Linked DNA regions of Homo sapiens: all the other regions are linked to region 1. Evidence: promoter capture Hi-C in human tissues and cell types (Jung and others, 2019). All regions are on one chromosome and are shown on one strand. Each heading gives the region's core, a stretch centred on a gene start or on the middle of the fragment in contact. The rest is flanking DNA. Distances are from core to core; before and after follow the strand shown.

Region 1 (4,127 bases), core at 1,628-4,127:
GGATTACAGGCACCCGCCACCACGTCCAGCTAATTTTTGTATTTTTAGTAGAGATGGGGTTTCACTATGTTGGCCAGGCTGGTCTGGAACTCCTGACCTCAGGTGATCCACTTGCCTCGGCCTTCCAAAGTGCTGGGATTATAGGGGTGAGCCACCGCACCTGGGGTGGTTACTGTTTAAAAAAAAAGTCACCTGACTCAGACCCACTGAGCACTTGGAGAACATCTACAGGTAGAAAACAAATGTTACAAATATTTAAATATCCTGATGGTTTTGGAAGTCAAGGGGAGAGAGATCTTACCTCTGTCTACCACCCAACCCTCTCCACCAAGGTCACTATAAATACAAAGAGCATAGCTTGGGCTACAGGAAAGAAGGCATTCATATGTATAAATGTGTGTGTATATATACACTGTTTTTTCTTTTTTAAGAGACTGGGTCTCCCTCTGTCACCCAGGCTGGAGCACAGTGGTACGATCATAGCTCACTGCAGCCTCCAAAGGTGCGGCTGAAGTGATCCTCCTACCTCAACCTCCCTAGTAGCTGGGATTAAAGATACACACCACCACATGGCTAAGAAGGCATTCTAGCCCTGAGTGGTGGTGACACAGGTTATATACTTGAAGTATACACACACACATATATATGTATACACCCATATGTAAATATAACACAAAAAACTATGTATTTCACTCTATGTATATATATTTACCATTTTAACCGTTTTTAAGTGTACAATTCAATGGCATTAAATACATTGTTGTGCAACCAACATCACCATCCATCTCCAGGACTTTTTTGGCATCCCAAACGGAAACTCCATAGCCATTAAACAACAATTTCTCATTTCCCCTTCCCTCCAGCCATGGGCAACCACCATGCTACTTTCTGACTCTATGAATTTCACTACTCTGGCTACCTCATATAAGTGGAACTGTACTGTACTGGTCCTTTTATGTCTGACTTATTTCACTTAGCATAATGTTTTTGAAGGTTCGTCTATGTTGTAGTATGTGTCAGAATTTGCTACCTTTTTTAGGCTGAAAAATAAACGATTCACAATATATTTTTAAAAATAAAAGTAACATATTTGGCTCATTTATTTTTGCTCACCCTGACATCATATTTCTCCTTGGATGCCTAGAGACAAAACTACCACTGTATAAGGGCTAGAAACAAAACTACCACTGTATAAGGGCAAATAAAAATGAAAAATAACAGGCTTAATTCCTCTGCTGAAAATAAAGAGACTTCTCAGCCTTCTCTCTGTTCCTTCAAAATTTCTTTCTCTGTCCTTTTCGAATGTACACAAATCTTTATAACGGCGAAATGAGCCTCTTGCCAGTATCACAACTCAGAAATGTATCCTCAAGGACTTGGGGGTCATCTTTTTGAAATTCAGACGTGAGTTAGTGCCTGTATCTTCCAGTTCCTACATGAGGGTAAGAGACTAAATTAGTGGGTATGGGCGCCTTGCTCCAATTTGTAAAACTACCTCCTGCTATAAAGATATGCGAACTTTGGCCGGCTGCGGTGGCTCACACCTGTAATGCTAGAACTTTGGGAGGCCAAGGAGGGCAGATCACGAGGTCAGGAGATCGAGACCATCCTGGCTAACACGGTGAAACCCCGTCTCTACTAAAAATACAAAAAAATTAGCCAGGCGTGGTGGCGGGCGCCTGTAGTCCCAGCTATTCGGGAGGCTGAGGCAGGAGAATCCCTTGAACCCGGGAGGCGGAGCTTGCAGTGAGCTGAGATCACGCCACTGCACTCCAGCCTGGGTAACAGAGCAAGACTCCGTCTCAAAAACAAAAAACAAACAAACAAAAAGATATGCGAAGTTTAAAAAACGAACAACAACAACAAAAAGTTATGCGAAGTTTGTTTTGCTTCTGGATAAAGCCAACATGAGTGGTCTCCCCAATTACTACTATTAAGTAAGGAGGAACTATGTTTGACAAAAGGTGTTGTCAAGTTCTGTTATTTGAAGACTAGTGATTGTTTATCTTGAGAACAGGTATGTAATGGTTGTTGTGGAGATTTTCTGGATTAAGAGAAGTTTTTTTTCTTTAAAATTCGAACAAGTGTCTGTATTTTTTCCCTTTATTTAAGAAACGGTGGCGGCGGTGGTGGTGGTGGATGGGGGGCGGCTCTCACTACCTTGCCCAGGCTGGTCTCAAACTCTTGTTCTCAAATGATGCTCCTACTTCGGCCTCCCAAAGTGTTAGGATTACAGGTGTGAGACACTTGTGTTGGATTTTTTTTTTTTGGAGGCAGGGTCTCGTTCTGTTGCCCAGGCTGGTGCAGTGGAGCAATCACAGCTGCCAGCCTCAAACTTTTGGGCTCAAGCGATCCTCGCACCTCGGTCGCCCCAGTAGCAGGGACCACAGGCACATGCCACTACTCCTGGCTAATTTTAACATTTTTTGTAGAGATGGGGTCTGGCTATGTTGCTAAGGCTGGTCTTGAACTACTGGGTTCAAGTGATCCTCCCTTCTCGACCTCCTAAAGTGTTGGATTACAGGCGTGAGCCCACTGTGCCCGGCCTGCATTTAATTAGACACCTAAAATTTAGGCCGGTCAGTAGCACACTTAGCAGCACGTTACTTTTTATAAAAACAAAGACCGAATACCGCTTTTTTGAAAAAAAAAAAAAAAAAAAAAAAAAAAGGATGCACCAGTTCTCCCCATATCATTTCTTCTCTCTACCTCTCGTCTTTTGCAGCTAACATTACTGGCCAGGTCCGCAGCAGCAGAGTTCTGTGGGCTCCCAGCCTCCGCCCTCCTCGCCCTCCTCCGCGCCGGCAGGTGAGGCCGCGTGGCGGGACTACAACTCCCAGCGTGCCCCGCGACGGGAGGGTCACGTGGGCGTCCGGAAACCCTGGTCGCACCGCCAGGGGTGAGCTGGCGGCGGGGGAGGCGGGCAGCGGAGCCAAGCTGACCCGGCGAGCGGAGCCGGGGCTGGAGAGCGGCGACCACTGCGGATCTCGGGTGCGCAAGCGGTGATGCGTGGGGCCGAAGACCTGCTGGGGCGGGGGCGGGTCCAATCCGAGGGGCTTCCCGGGTCGGGAGGGCGGTGGGGAGATGTAGGTGGCGGCCCCCCTTGGGTGGGGCGCCCAGGCAGGGTCGGCCGCTCGCCCCCTCCTTCTCCTCCCTGGGCCCGGGCCTGGGGTCCCGGCCGTCACGGGGAGGCTGCGATGGGGTGGATGGGGAGGAGAAGGACCCCCGGGGGACCCTGCGGCCCGGCCCCGATCCATGCGGCAGAGGCTTTTGTGCTCCTCGCCCGCCTGTCCTCCGGCCGTGGGTCTGGGAGATTCTGACTTGATCAGAAAAGGGCTTGTCGTTCGGACCAGGGGAGAGGGGATGCTTTTCAGGTAGGTGGGGAAGGAAGCTCTTTGGAAAGGATGTATAGAGGTCAGAGAAGAAGCGTGGTCTCAGTGAGTGACTGGTTTTGTTTTCTGGTAACTAGCATGAACTCAGTCAAGGAATTTGGTCAAATTATTCGTCATTCCCTCCTTATTCTTCGCAGGGTGTGTTCTGTTTATTCTCAGTTTTGACAGGAGATAATGGGAATGTGTCCCCGGAGTTTTTAGTGTTTTTTTGAAATGTAAGATGGTAGGCTATCTCGTGGTAACTCTTACTGAAAAGTTTATAGTTTATAGGGAGGAGTGGTTCCTGGGGTGAGCAAAATCATTCAGTTGTTATCTTTTTGTCCACCGGTTTATTTCTACCTTTACACAAATTTATACATACATAAATATATATAACAGTTGTTGAAGGGAATGTCTTCAGTGCTTTGGTGCTTAAATGATTTCTTTTCAGTTTGTTTGATGTTTCTTGGATACTAGGCTCTATACTAAGAACTCCATATAAATTATCTCATTTAATTAATACATGAGGAAATTGAGCTTCGGGTTGGGCGCGGTGTCTCATGCCTGTAATCCCAGCACTTTGGGAGGCCGAGGCCTGTGGATTCCTTGAGGTCAGGAGTTCAAGACCAGCCTGGCCAACATGGTGAAACCCCGTCTCTACTAAAAATACAAAGATTAGCTGGGCGTCGTGGCGCATGCCTGTAATCCCAGCTACTCGGGAGGCTGAGGCAGGAGAATCGCTTGAACCTGGGAGGC
Region 2 (4,514 bases), core at 262-2,761, 260 kb after region 1:
CTCAAAGTGCTGAGATTACAGGCGTGAGCCACTGCGCCTGGCCTCTTAGGCCTGTCTTACTTGCTACCTGGGTTTCCTGTTGGTTTCAGAGATTCCCTAGGAGTCCTTATTATTGATACCATTTAGCCAGTATAATAACTACTTCATATGGTGAATTTAGACTTTACCCTCTTACTGGGAATTAAGAACTCTATTTGAGGGCAGGTATCAAAAAACAGCCCACAAATAACTTAAATATGTATTCTCTGTCTTCTTTAGGCACATGCAATCCAAACACAAAATTTTCTCCTTTCCCTTTAACCATTACTAAAATATTCCTTCACTGACCTCCTTCCTTTAAGAAATTCAATCAGCTGTTACATAGTGGCTGATTTTATGGTTAGCATGTTGGCCCAACAGGACAATTGTATCCTTCTGTTAACCTCCTCCAAGTCAGCACATTTAAAAGGAAATGATAGTGATTGGCAGCTTATTACATGGTAGGCACTATAGTAGGTAAGTAAGTACTTAACCTATGTTATCTTCTTTGACATTTATAACAACTCCATGTGAGAAATGAGAAAAATGATCTAGCTAGCCCTTTTATGTAGCTATTTGGCAGAGCTGGAGTTTGAACCCCTAGCAGTCTAATTCCAAAGCTGATGCACTTCACTGATTAATCTCTTCTGCAAAAATGAAAATTAACTACTGGGGTTGCTGAGATAGGAGGATTGCTTGAGCCCAGGAGCTTGAGGCTGCAGTGAACTGTGATTGCGCCACTGTACTCCAGCCTGGGTGACAGAGGGAGACCATGTCTTAAAAAAGAAATAAAACTTAAAAATGCAATATCATACTTTACCTATCAAATGGGCTGCCTTTTTTTTTTTTTTCTTTTAAGTACTGATGCCCATTGTTAACCCAGGGGTATGAAATACGCTTCTTATATAATACTAGTAAGGAAAGTAAGTTACTAGTACCACTTTTTTGGAGACAGTTTTGTAATATGTAGCAATTATCTTAAAAATGTTGGTCTTTTTTCTAGCATTTCTTAGAATTTATTCTGAGGAATTAATCAGGGAAACATTAATATATACAAACATGAATTTCAACTTTGAAGAAAGATTCAGAATGAACTAAGTGCTTAAGAATCAAAAAATGATTATAATATGGTATATCTACATCTTAAAATTGTAGTCTGTTTTAAATATTTAATAAAAAGAAAATGCTCATTATATAATAAGAAAGATAAGCAGGATAAACATTGTGATCCCAATTGAAGATAAAATGGAGTTATGGGCTGGGCGCAGTGGCTCACACGTGTAATCCTAGCACTTTGGGAGGCCAAGGTGGGCGGATCACAAGGTCAGGAGATCGAGACCATCCTGGCCAACATGGTGAAACCCCATCTCTACTAAAATACAAAAAATTAGCCGAATGTGGTGGCACACCCCTGTAGTCCAGCTACTCAGGAGGCTGAGGCAGGGGAATTGCTGGAACCTGGGAGGCGGAGGTTGCAATGAGCCGAGATCATGCCACTGCACTCCAGCCTGGCAACAGGGCAAGACTCTGTCTCAAAAAAAAAAAAAAAAAGGAGTTATGTATCTATATATAGTAGAAAAAATCTGGAATGAAATACACTCAAATTTAGGAGTGATTTTAAATGAGAAAAAATAACATGCAAAGGATGTTTTAATGGAATTTCCTAGGAAGTTTGCTTTGTGATTCTAAATTTTTGTGAGTTTGTTTTTTTTTTTTTTTAATGGGACTTACGCTCTTCCATATTGAAGATTTGGCTGCCATAAGTTACTTGGGAATCTTGTTTTAGACTCTTAGATAGTTGAATAAGCCTGATTTCCACCTCTGTTAATTATTGTGACTTCTTATCGACATGAGGACCCAATGTTGTTGTATTACTGTGATCTTTGTAAGGTGGAAAAGGTTTAAAATAACTTGGAATCATAAAGTTGTTTTCCCCAAAACATATTGTGAAAATGTTCAAACATATAGGAAAAATTGGAAGAATTTTACAGCAAGCACCTATAAGCCTTATCATCTAGATTCTACTATTAACATTTTCATTACATGCTCTAACACATATCTATCCATGTAACTATTCTGCTGTCTACCCATCTTATTTTTTTGATGCGTTTCTAAATAAATTGCAGATATCAGTACATTTTCCAGAATCATAGAGGTTTTAGGCTTAAGAGTAATTTTCAAGCTTAAAAAAAAAAAAGATTTAAAACAGAAATTGTACATTGATACAACACACAAGAGCTGTAGGTAGTGCCACTCTGCTGGAAAGAGGAATGAGGTCCAGAGATCATTCCTTGGCTTTTTCCCCATCTCCCCTTTGTGAAGGGTTCTTCCACACAGTTTGAAAATTAGCAGTTTAATCCACCCCTTCATTCCTACATTGAGGAATCTGGATCCATAGGTGTTAAGTGACCTGCCCAAGATTGCAGAGAAAGCTATTGGCTGAACTAGGAATCAAATCCAAATCTTCTGATTTCGATTGCTGTGACTACTCAAGGTCATAGCCTTCCAGAGCTGTAGAATTACAGGGTCTTAGCATTGGAATAAATGATGAAGTTATGTATTTTGTCATGCTACCCGTCTTTCTTTAATTATGACTCAGTCACCTGCTCTTCTTTATGTCAGTGTAACTGTGCTTATTTAGGGAGTAAGTCTTCACATGAAAGAGGAAGGAATGATGCTATTAGAATAGATTTCTAATGTGAGATAAAAGGCCCTGTCCTGAGAAGACGATTTGGATTATCTGGATAATCATATTAGGACCTAATGTTCTGATGAAAATCATAATTGTATATAATTTGGAAATTGTATAGTATCTATAAGTGTGGACATTATAAAAGGCTCCATCTGCTGATTTGAATTTGTTGCTTTAATTTTATATGTTTTGAAATAAAAAGAGTAGGTTTTAAAAATCCACAGTTAATTGTCTGTAATTGCAGCATTACATTAAGCAAAATTCTCAGGCCTGGAAATGCATTAAAAACTTGAGTGTTTTTAATGTACTTACAATTGTTATTTCTGATTATGTCGGATATAATGATTAGAAATCACATAGTATCACCAGTTACCAAAATCATTTTTTTTTAATCTTTTAAAAATCCAGTGAAAAAAAGGAGGAACTGGCACAGACATGACTACACAGAAATTGATGATGGTTCCAAACCAGTGCAAGCTGGAACTAGAACTTTCATTAAGGAATTACGCTCTCGAGTCTTCCCAAGGTATGGAAACTTACTCTGATAAAAGAAAATGTAAGAATGTAAGAATGTCGTCTCATAGAGTGACATTATATAAAGGCAATGTTTTCAAACTTAGGCTGCAACCCATTATTGTCCTCAGCCAGCTTTTCACCTTTTTTCTTCCTTAACGAAATAGAAAAGTATCAGTACATTCCAAGAAATAGCAGTAAGTAAGCATATTTTCATGGAACTTTTGTTACATCTATGTGCACACTGGGTCACCCTGTAAAAACATTTAAGTGTGGGCCACAGTCCAAAAAGTTTGAAATACACTAATCTGAGGGAGTTGTTCCCAGTACTTGGTTCCTTATGATATGCAGCTGCTACCTGTTTTGTTTCTTTTGCCTCACCTTCTCTTGTTTTCCCAACTCTGCTTTTTCTCCATTGCTTTTATATGCATCTCTGCCCTACATCCACCAGAAGCACACACAACCACTGCAGGGGTGGGCTTTTTGATTTTTTAAAAAATAATGGAATATATTTGAGTTGTCTGGCTCAAAGAGAGTGGAAAGCATTATAAAGCATTTAATCATGCTAATTTAGATCATTTCCTACTCACTGCCTGACATCTATTTCAAGTGATAATGCTTAATAGGCTTTTACACAAGATCATAGTCAGGCTTGTTAAAGAGGGGAAGCACAATTTAAATTTAAATCACAGTATCACATGCAGCTTATTATGGAATTATTTCAGATCCTGAAACGATAAAACCCCTGCTATTTCTCCTCAGTCTTTAGAATTCCTCTCTAGCCCCCTGCCCCTTAATCCTTATGCAGAAACATATAATGGTAAGTATCTACTGTTGGCTCCCTCAGGTCTGTTGAGAGACAGAAAGAACACATATTTAAAATGTAGTGTTTCCACGTGATTTTTGTGGTGTTAAATACCCTATTCGCAAATATTCTTTTTTATCAGTTTCCAAGTTGTAGGATAAATGTTTGCGTGTTTTCTTTTTTATTGGCTCATGCTTGATTGGTTTGGCACCTAGGCCCAAAGTTTTCAGTCTGCTTCTGGTGGTGGGTCTAAGAGAGGTTTGTGAGCTCCCTAAAATGGTATGTATAATTTAGAGTCAGTTGGGAGTGTCCATTTCTCAGGGAGAGGAGCTATAGCTTTCTTTTTTTTTCTAAATAGGTTTCTGACACAAAAATGTAGTGTTAAAAACACTGGCCTAATAATTTATGTGACTTTACTGCCTGCCAGTGACCACAAATGAGAACGGGTTATAGAGATGATCACAAATGTCCAAAATGTAATTACCA
Region 3 (4,493 bases), core at 1,893-4,392, 290 kb after region 1:
CTTGTGCTATTTTGGCAGCACGTGTGAATGCCAGTAGTAGAGGGAATAGAAATCATGCCTTTATATACAACCTGCATTTTATTATTCAGTATATACAAATGTACTGGCTTCTTTTATGAGAATAAAGTATTTATTTCTTTAATCTTCAATCTGGAAAAGAAAGTAATTCAAGTATATTTAGGAAATTGACTAAGAAATGAACATATAGGTAACATTGAGCTCTTACAGTTGTGCTATAGTGTGCTGAGAGCACTGTGCTTAATCTTTATACACATAATCTCATTTAATCCTCAATGCCAACTGTGTGAGGTCTAGGTGCTGTTGGTACCACCATTCTACATATGGGAAAGCCAAGGTTCAAAGAGTTAAGTAACTTGCCCAAGAGAACTGGTGAAGTTAGGACTTAAAACTTAGATCTCTGGGACTGCAAAGCCTATGCTCGTTACCACTCTGCTAGATTTATGTAAAAGTGAAGGAAAGGAGAGACCAAATTTCAAGCATGAGCTTTCCATTTTCATGAAAATATGAGCTAGTTGTTTGCATTTGAATCCCACCACCTCCAGATCTCCATTTGGAATTAGTGTTTCCTTCCCTTATGCATCCATGCTATATTTCTTGTGCCTATGGGCTTAAAACAAATGTTTATAAAGTAATATATTTGTGTTTCCTTCAACTGGGTCTGTGAGCTCTTGAACAGGGACTGTCTTTCTCATCTTTATTATAACTCCATGGAACTTTGCACATAATACTTTAATAGGTGATACATACATATGTGAGCTGATGAAAATACATGTCCATATTAATTTCTTTTTTTTTTTTTAGACAGAGTCTTAATCTGTTGCCCAGGCTGGATTGCAGTGGTGCGATCTCGGCTCGCTGCAACCTACGCCTCCTGGGTTCAAGTGATTCTCCTGCCTCAGCCTCCCGAGTAGTTGGGACTACAGGCACGCACCACCACGCCTAGTTAATTTTTGTATGTTTTAGTAGAAATGAGGTTTCGCCATGTTGGCCAGGCTGGTCTTGAGCTCCTGACCTCAGGTGATCCACCCGTCTTGGCCTTCCAAAGTCCTGGAATTACAGTCATGAGCCACTGTGCCTGGCTGTGTCCATATTAATTTCTTGAATGTCCCCTTGAAATAAAAATCTTGCTCTTAAGAAATACTGGGAGACAGTAATTAATAGGTTACTGCCTCAATGATTTTATACTCCCTTTTTACTGTATTATCATTGCTACATATCTGCTAGAGCACAACAGTGTGGAAGCATTCAGGAAAATAAAAATCATGTCCTCCACTGTGAAAGACCTTATTGTCTAGGTGACAAGGAAAGCCATAAGCAAATTTAAAACTGTTTAACAAGATAAAAACAAAACAAAGCATATGTTGCCAAAACTGTATAATTTGTTTCCTACTGAAGGCTTTAGATGTGTGATTCTCAAATTTGTGACTTTATCAGAATTCCCTTTAGAGCTTTTTTTTTTTTTTTGAGACAGAGTCTCACTCTGTTGTGCAGACTAGAGTGTAGTGGCACAATCTCGGCTCACTGCAACCTCCACTTCCTGGGTTCAAGTGATTCTCCTACCTCACCCTCCTGAGTAGCTGGGATTCCACGCCTGGCTTAGTTTTGTATTTTTAGTAGAGACGGGGTTTTGCCATGTTGGCCAGGCTGGGCTCAAACTTCTGACCTCAGGTGATCTGCCAGCCTTGGCCTCCCAAAGTGTTGGGATTACAGGCGTGAGTCACTGCGCCCGGCCTTCCCCTTTCCTATTGATGGGATCTTTTTTCTATTTTGCTTTTGACTATTAAAAGAAAAAAAAGTACAAAAATTTATTCAAATTAGATTTCCCAAGAGAAATTAGGATTACGTTAGTGTCTGTGTTCTCCTTAAAAATCCTTATGCATTATGAATTAAATGTTAAGCTTAATTTGTCACTTTACGAATTAGTAGTAGTAGTTAGAATTACAGTAGGCTTTGAGGAGTAGAGTACAAGGTTACTACTCAATGTAAAGCAAAATTCACTGTGAGACTAGTCTGTTTTTAACACAGTCTAAGAGGATTTTGTATGTTAATGAGAATCTCCTTAGAAGGCATTATACTAGCTACACGAACTCTGAAACCTGGCTTACTAGTATTTGGCGATGTCTGTAACAGTTTAGAGAATCCAAAAATTGGTTTAGTAAATTTGTTTTTACATATTAAAGTGTAAATAACTTTGGTTTTCTTATTTTTGTTAATCCAAATACAGCTTGTATCTGAACATGCCTTTGAAATTCCAGACAATGTTAGACCTGGACACCTTATTAAAGAACTTTCTAAAGTAATTCGAGCAATAGAGGTAAGAGTGGAAACTGTCATGTAAATGCTTGATTATTATCTGCTTTGAGAAGCAAATGGATCTATTCCACTCTCTACAAATATTTAAAAACTCTTACACACTTAGAAGAAATATAATGAGCTGAGTCTTTGGAGGTTTCTCAGGTTTTCAGGCCTCTGAAGTCCTTAAGAGAAATTTAAATATTGTATTCTAATGAATTCTAATGAAGTAATAAGGAAACAGTTACTAGTTTAGGATACTTAAAAAAAATCAAAAATACAGAGTATAAACAGTAGAACTTTCAGATACAGTTAATTTCAGCTACCCAGAGAGGAATACATGTTTATGTAATTAGAACAAGAGAAGAAATGTAAGGTGAATGAGTCAAGCTAGGGAAGCTGAGATGGAGAGAGGGATGATAAGCAGTAGAGTGGGGCAAGGAGATGCTTAGGTAAATGCCCTTTAATAAAAGCTCATAAAATCTGATGAGATGTTTTAATTTATTAATTGAGAGCTATTCTCGGTGTTTAAGAAAGGGTGTTTTAAAGTAATTCTTCAAGAAGGTTGTTCTGTTAGTGTCTAGCTTAAATTGAGAGGAAATTAGGTGGAGGAATGGAGGCCAGCTGATGATTTAACAGCTTACATTAGGGCTGTGTTTGGAGAATGGAAAGAGGTATACATTTACAAAATACTAAAATGCTTGCTTTAATATCAATGGATAGAATGTGTAATTCTCAATGTGTTCAGATAGAGGAGAAAAATACGTTCTGTTTTTAAAGTGTTACAGTAATCACATTTAAATTGATTTAGTATCAAAAGTCATATATCTAATCTTAAATATATATGTAAGTTTATACATATATAAATCTCATGCATGATAACCAACATGAAGAATAAACTTACTGTGAAAGGTATGATTCTATATGAAGAAAAACTATAAATCTTTACTTTTAGGAAGTAAAACAGTAGTTAAATGGGAGTGTCAGTCAGCTCTAAATTAGTATTACAAATTTAAAGTGGTAAAATACACTTGGAAGAGTAATTAAACTGGTCTAGAGAGCAGCCAGTTCAGGATGGATCAGAAGAATGAAAGGATCCATATTTGTTATGACCTGAAATTCAAGTTTAAGTGGGTGTCTGTTATTTTATCTGGCAATCCTATCCAGGAAGGATGTCTCCAGAGAAAAATATAAAATTATTAGATTACCAAATGTGTTTGAATGTTTGTATTCTTCTAGTGGATAATTTGGGAATCAGTTAGTGATTGAATAAGGGAATGTAATGACAATATGTTATGTGGCGCTGGGTTATCAATAATTTTTACCAAGTCCAATTTACTGAATATTGAAGGAAAGGGAGGTATGTGCATGTTTAAGAGAGGTGTGTAAGGATTAAGACTTCATCTTGCATGATAGGAATTCAGTAATATCTGAAGCTGAAAACAGTATAAACATATCATTTTGTAATTTGGAGGCAAATAACTACAGGGAAAACCATTTAGAAGAGTTGGAAGTCCTGGCTATATACCTAAAAGAATTGATAGCAGGGACTCAAACAGGTATTTGTACACCTACGTTTATAGCAGCATTATCCACAATAGCCAAAAGATAGACCAAGCAACCCAGGTGTCCATCAGCAGGTGAATAGATAAAGTGTGGGACATACTCACAGTGGAATACTACTCAGCCTTATAAAAGAAGGAAATGCTGACTGGGAGGATTCCAAGATGGCCAAATAAGAACAGCTCCAGTCTACAGCTCCCAGCGTGAGCGACACAGAAGATGGGTCATTTCTGCATTTCCAACTGAGGTACTGGGTTCATCTCACTGGGGCTTGTTGGACAGTGGGTGCAGCCCACGGAGCGTGAGCCAAAGCAGGGCGGTGCATCGCCTGTCCCAGGAAGTGCAAGGGGTCGGGGAGTTCCCTTTCCTAGCTAAGGGAAGCCGTGACAGACGGTACCTGGAAAATCAGGACACTCCCACCTTAATACTGCACTTTTCCAATGGTCTTAGCAAACAGCACATCAGGACGTTATATCCTGCGCTGGCTCCGAGGGTCCCACACCCACGGAGCCTTGGTCACTGCTAGCACAGCAGTCTGAGATCAAACTGCAAGGTGGCAGCGAGGTTAGGGGAGGGGCATCCACCATTGCTGAGGCTTGAGTAGGTAAATGAAGCAG

The links. The method cuts DNA at HindIII sites, captures the fragments that hold promoters and counts their contacts. A contact is called where the count stands out against the background at its distance.
Region 2: a fragment that was not itself captured here is called in contact with the fragment with the promoter of SLC37A3 in region 1 in 1 of the 25 tissues and cell types used here (mesenchymal stem cells).
Region 3: a fragment that was not itself captured here is called in contact with the fragment with the promoter of SLC37A3 in region 1 in 1 of the 25 tissues and cell types used here (mesenchymal stem cells).

What each region holds. Positions count from the first base shown.
Region 1 is chr7:140,397,280-140,401,406 of GRCh38, reverse strand. SLC37A3 (solute carrier family 37 member 3) reads left to right here and starts at 2,877. Exons shown (of 15, transcript NM_207113.3): 1 at 2,877-2,991. RefSeq lists silencers at 2,730-2,959, 3,070-3,339. The HindIII fragment of the contact is 36,664 bases long and covers 1-4,127 here.
Region 2 is chr7:140,132,261-140,136,774 of GRCh38, reverse strand. It overlaps KDM7A (lysine demethylase 7A), which reads left to right. Exons shown (of 20, transcript NM_030647.2): 3 at 3,119-3,236. Among named protein-coding and RNA genes, the nearest start is that of KDM7A, 42 kb to the left of the region's middle. The HindIII fragment of the contact is 3,729 bases long and covers 1-3,375 here.
Region 3 is chr7:140,108,937-140,113,429 of GRCh38, reverse strand. It overlaps KDM7A (lysine demethylase 7A), which reads left to right. Exons shown (of 20, transcript NM_030647.2): 11 at 2,246-2,335. Among named protein-coding and RNA genes, the nearest start is that of PARP12, 48 kb to the right of the region's middle. The HindIII fragment of the contact is 4,968 bases long and covers 659-4,493 here.